2 separate regions of the Homo sapiens genome follow, and region 1 is linked to region 2. Evidence: promoter capture Hi-C in 16 types of primary human blood cells and fetal thymus (Javierre and others, 2016). All regions are on one chromosome and are shown on one strand. Each heading gives the region's core, a stretch centred on a gene start or on the middle of the fragment in contact. The rest is flanking DNA. Distances are from core to core; before and after follow the strand shown. Region 1 has its middle 64 kb from the start of CRLF2. Region 2 holds the start of PPP2R3B (protein phosphatase 2 regulatory subunit B''beta).

Region 1 (2,700 bases), core at 17-2,516, 760 kb after region 2:
GTCTATCACATGGGGATTAGGACGTGGACATCTTTGGGGCCATTATTCTGTCTCCCACATGGGGATCAGGACGTGGACATCTTTGGGGCCATTATTCTGTCTATCACATGGGGATCAGGACGTGGACATCTTTGGGAGTGACATTATTTATCCCTCCACCATTCACTCTGTCCCAGGATCCATTCCATCCTCCCCTGACTTCCCTTTCTTGTGAGCGTGGCTGAGGCAAAATCTGCCCGTCTCCCAAGACTGCAGGCTGCACCTGCCCCGACTCCGCATTTCTCTTCCTCTTACGTACGCCCCTTCAATGCCATTCCTCTGTCTCACTTCACGTCTGTTCAGTGCTTTCAGGAGAGAATTCACCGGGGGGATCACCTCTGAACAACGCCATTCACCAGCTCTCTGGGGCCTGCGAGTCTCTGCCTTCATCCTCACGGTCTACGAGGCAACGTGATCCTGCTTTTTTATTATTCCTGGGTGGACGCTAACCGCCTCCTGGTTTCCTGGGGCCCAGCAACGTCCACACTGGCCCTCCTGGCTTCTTTGTCTAGATTCCCTTCTTGAACTTCAATGTGAAGCGTTTGCGTACCTGCCACCACACTTCCTCCCACGTTCCAAAGCCCGGTCAGCTTTCTCACAGCGGAACTCAAACACCAGGGGCTTATCTTCACCAGTGCTGCAAAAACAGCCTTTCCCAACGGGCCTTCTCTTTCATGTCGAGCCCGTTCCTCCTCTTCCCTCCCTCCTGTGGGCAGCGGCGGCTGCGTTTCTGAGCAACTGGCTTCATGGGGGCGGAAAGACACAGAAGATGCTTCTGCAGGGGGACGGTTTCTGAAGCCCACATGACCAGTGGGGCAGCCGGGGCGGGGCAGAACGTGCTTTTAGTTTATTTTTATTATTTTATTTCATTTATTGTATTTATTTATTTTACACATTTATTTATTTTTCTGAGATGGAGCTTAGCTCTGTTGTCCAGGCTGGAGTGCAGTGGTGCCGGGCAGAATGTGCTTTTAGTTTATTTTTATTATTTTATTGTATTTTATTTATTTATTTAATTAATTTATTTATTTTATATATTTATTTATTTATCTGAGATGGAGTTTCACTCTGTTGTCCAGGCTGGAGTATAGTGGTGTGAAGCAGAACGTGCTTTTATTTTATTTTTATTATTTTATTTTATTTATTTACTTATTTTTTTTTATATATATATATATTTTTTTGAGACGGAGTTTCACTCTGTTGTCCAGGCTGCAGTGCAGTGGTGCCGGGCAGAAAGTGCTTTTAGTTTATTATTTTATTGCAGCTTATTTATTTATTTAATTATTTATTATTTACTTATTTACTGAGACGGAGTTTCACTCCTGTCGCCCAGGCTGGAGTGCAGTGGCGCGATCTCGACTCACTGCAAGCTCCGCCTCCCGGGTTCAAGCGATTCTCCTGCCTCAGCCTCCCGAGTAGCTGCGATTACAGGCACCTGCCACCACCATGCCCGGCTAATTTTTGTATTTTTAGTAGAGACGGGGTTTTGCCATGTTGGCCAGGCTGGTCTTGAACTCCTGACCTCAGGTGATCCGCCCGCCTCGGCCTCCCAAAGTGCTGGGATTATGGGTGTGAGCCACTGCGCACGGCCATATTTTATCTATTTATTTACTTGCTCACTTATTTTGATATGTAGTCTCACTCTGTCCCGCAGGCTGGAGTGCAGTGGCGCAATCTTGACTCTCTGCAATCTCCACCTCCCGGGTTCAAGTGATTGTTCTGCCTCAGCCTCCTGAGTAGCTGGGGTCACAGGCACCTGCCACCATGACCAGCTAATTTTTGTATTTTTAGTAGAGACAAGGTTTTGCCATGTTGGCCAGGCTGGTCTTGAACTCCCGACCTCAAGTGATCCACCCACCTTGGCCTCCCAATGTGCTGGGATGACAGCTGTGAGCCACCATGCCCAGCCCAGAACATTCTTTTAAATGACAGTGGTGAAGAGCCAAAAAATAATAATAATAATTCTTTTTGTAGTAGTAGATTCAGTTCTAAAGCAAACTTCTTTAAAGACTGGGTGCAAAGCTACCTTTACACACAGAGAGAAACTTCACCCGGAGACAGGATTGCTAGTTGCTGAGATGTACTCAGATCAAACTAAGCTGGAGAGGGGCTCTTGGCCTCAGCACTGCTGACATTTGCGGCTGGAAGATTCTTTGCTGTGGGGCCATCCTGGGCACTGGAGGGTGTTGAGCAGTGTCCCTGGGCTGCACCCACCAGGTTCCAAAACCACCCACTCCCCAGTGAGGGCAACAAAAAATGAAAAATGACCGTAAATACTGCCCGATGGCACCTTAGAGCAGAATTATCTGCAGTTGGGAGTCAGTATCAATATAGATAGAGAGATAGTAGATAACAAACAGATAGATAAATAGATACATAGAAAAATGGATGCATAGGCCGGGCACGGTGGCTCACGCCTGTCATCCCAGCACTTTGGGAGGCCGAGGCGGGCGGATCACCTGAGGTCAGGAGTTCGATACCAGCCTGACCAACATGGTGAAACCCCATCTCTACTAAAAATACAAAAATTAGCTGGGTGTGGTGGCGGGTTCCTGTAGTCCCAGCTACTTGGGATGCTGAGGCAGGAAAATCACTTGAACTCAGGAAGCAGAGGTTTTAGTGAGCCAAGATCATGCCACTGCACTCCAGCCTGGGTGGCAG
Region 2 (2,820 bases), core at 179-2,678:
GCGGTGTATAATCACCTTCTATGAAATAAATGGCGTTTCTTCTAAGAAATACAGTGGGATTTTGGGAGGCCGAAGCGGGAGGATTGCTTGGACCCAGGAATTCCAGAGCACTCTAGGTAACATAGCAAGACCTCGTCTCTGCAAAAATAAATAAATAAATAAATAAACAAAAATTAGCCTGGCGTGATGGTGCACGCCTGTAATCCCAGCTACTGGGGAGGCTGAGGCAGGAAGTCCAACTGTGTTTGCGCCACTGCACTCCAGCCTAGGAGACAGAGCAAGACCCTGTCTCCAAAGAATTGTAAAATAAATAAAAAACGGACCAGGCGCAGTGACTCACGTCTGAAATCCCAGCACTTTGGGAGGCCAAGGCGGGAGGATCACTTGAGGTCAGGAGTTCGAGACCAGCCTGGCCCACATGGGGGAAACCCAGTCTCTACTAAAAATACAACATCAGCCAGGCGTGGTGGCACGTGCCTGTAAGTCCCAGCTCCTCGGGAGCCTGAGGCAGGAGAATCGCTTGAACCTGGGAGGCAGAGGTTGCAGTGAGCCAAGATCGCGCCATCGTACTCCAGCCTGGGCAACAGAGCAAAACTCTGTCTCAAAATTAAAACAAATTAAAATAATAAAATAAAATAAAATAGGAAGCCTTTCTACCTTTATAAATTGTGTGATTTTTAGGTTAACAACTGTCAATGACGGAATGTTCAGTACGTGGGACTTTCTTGTCTGTATGTGTGTGGTGGGGGGGGTCGGGGCGGGGAACAGACTCAATATGAAACCGTTTTGGGGTCTGACGCTCGCCCACCAGCCTCCATCGCGCAGCCACACGCCCACTATGCGACCAGAGCCACCTGCGCAGTTGTTAGCAGAAGGAAGAGTAACTTACTACTCTCGTCCCTGCGGATCTACGGGTGCCTCGAACGTGGGGCGCGTTCCTGGGGCTGGAGGCGGCGCCCAGGGGCAGCGCAGGGCCCGGCCCGGGGGTTCCCGGGGGTTCGAGCCCGCTGGGCCGGGGGGCGGCGAGCGGGGCTGTGGGCCAGGCCCCGGGCTGCTCCCCGTCCCCCGGGGTCGGCTGGTCCCGCCCGGGCGCCTTGATCCGGCGCAGGCAGTCCTGCAGCATCCGCTGCGTGCTGGCCTCGCTGAGCCAGTACAGGAACAGCTCGTCCACCTTCATCTTCAGGACCGGCTGCAGCACTTTGCCGGGCGGCATGGCGGGGGCTGGGCCCGCGGCGCCCCCGGACGCCCGCGCCCCGCCCCGCCCCGGGGGCTTCGGTCCGCCCCGGACCGACCTCGGTGATGCGAGCACGGCCCGCTGAGGGGGCGCGGCGCAGGGAACAGGGCCCGCGCCTCGGGAACTGCGCGGACTCGCGGGGCGCGGGGACCGAGGAGGGGGCGCGGTCCGGCCCGCGCTGCTCAGGGCAGCTTCAAAACGGGCGCGCCGGCCGCGCTCCCAAACAAGGGCGCCCGCGTTCACGTCACTGCGTCGCGTCATCGCGACGATGTCATCACGAGGCGACGCCGCCGCTAGCCACGCGCGCCCCGCGGCCCTCGGAGCTTTTGCAGGAGGCTTTGGTGGGGCCGAGCGGCTGCGGTGAGGACGAGGGAGGGGCTGTGGCGGCCGTACCGCCCGAGCTCTTTCTGCGTTTAGGATTTTTAGAGGCGCGGCCCATGGCGGCGTGGCAGTCCTAGAGCTGCGGAAATGCGAGCATGCGCAATGCGTGCCTGCCAGAGCGAGGAGAGGGTGGAACCTCCGCATGGAGCATGCGCCGTGCATAGCGGTGGAGGAGCGGAGTTCGGGAGGCCGGTCGGGTGAGCGTGCGCAATGGCTGCCCGCGGGGCGCAAGCCAGAGGCTGGGAGGTGTGTGAGCGGGTGGGGCTGGAGGACGGGAGTGCGCCTGCGCAGTGGGAGGCACCGGGAACGAGCGAGCATGCGGGGTGCGCGCCCGCCGAGCTCGGGAGCGAGCGTGCGTCCTACGGGAGCGCGCGAGGAAAAGATCAAACTTTTCAATAACAGCGGGCTACCTGGGACCCAAAGGGCCCCGTTTACTTTAGCTTTGCTTATCAAACAGTAGAGACAGGTTGGAGGAGTTGGACCCCTTTAAACGTTGGTGTTCAGGGATGAGCGTGAAGTGCGTTGAAAATTGCAAAAATCATCCACGTCCAGGGAGGTGACATTAGTTAAATAACTTTACCCAATGGTCGTTTTTGTTTCTGCTTTTAACAGTATCCATAAAAACACTGCATTATCATCTGTCTGGCACACATGCACCTGTTTCCTTTACATCTTGCCCCGCTTTTTATTCATTTTTTATCAAAATAGGGTTTCACCTGGTGTTGCACCCTGTTAGAGAGTAATTTCAAGGTCTTTTATGAGCCAGGTTCTCCTACTTCTGAGCTGCATAAATCGAGCCAGACTCAATAAGTAACCCTTGGCCGGGCGCGGTGGCTCAAGTCTGTAATCCCGGCACTTTGGGAGGCTGAAGCGGGCAGATCACGAAGTCAGGAGTTCGAGACCAGCCTGGCCAGCATAGTGAAACCGCCCCCACCATCTCTACTAAAAATAGAAAAATTAGCCGGGCATAGTAGCGTGTGCCTGTAGTCCCAGCTACTCGGGAGGCTGTGGCGGGAGAATTGCTTGAACCCAGGAGGTGGAGGTTGCAGTGAGCTGAGATCACACCATTGCACTCCAGCCTGGGCGACAGAGCCAGACTTTGTCTCAAAAAAAAAAAAAATAACTCTTTTTTTAGTTTTATTTTTTTTTTGAGTTGGAGTCTCGCTCTGTCGCCCAGGCTGGAGTGCGATGGCAAGATCTCAGCT

What was found. Contacts are between HindIII fragments. The CHiCAGO score rates a contact against its expected background, and 5 or more counts as called.
Region 1: a contact is called between a fragment that was not itself captured here and the fragment with the promoter of PPP2R3B in region 2, in 3 of 17 cell types (M0 macrophages, M1 macrophages and erythroblasts). The highest score is 8.8, in M0 macrophages.

The regions. Positions count from the first base shown.
Region 1 is chrX:1,147,285-1,149,984 of GRCh38, forward strand. No RefSeq gene overlaps it. Among named protein-coding and RNA genes, the nearest start is that of CRLF2, 64 kb to the right of the region's middle. The HindIII fragment of the contact is 6,803 bases long and covers 1-2,700 here.
Region 2 is chrX:385,479-388,298 of GRCh38, forward strand. It overlaps PPP2R3B (protein phosphatase 2 regulatory subunit B''beta), which reads right to left and starts at 1,429. Exons shown (of 13, transcript NM_013239.5): 1 at 890-1,429. The coding sequence starts at 1,213. The HindIII fragment of the contact is 20,425 bases long and covers 1-2,820 here.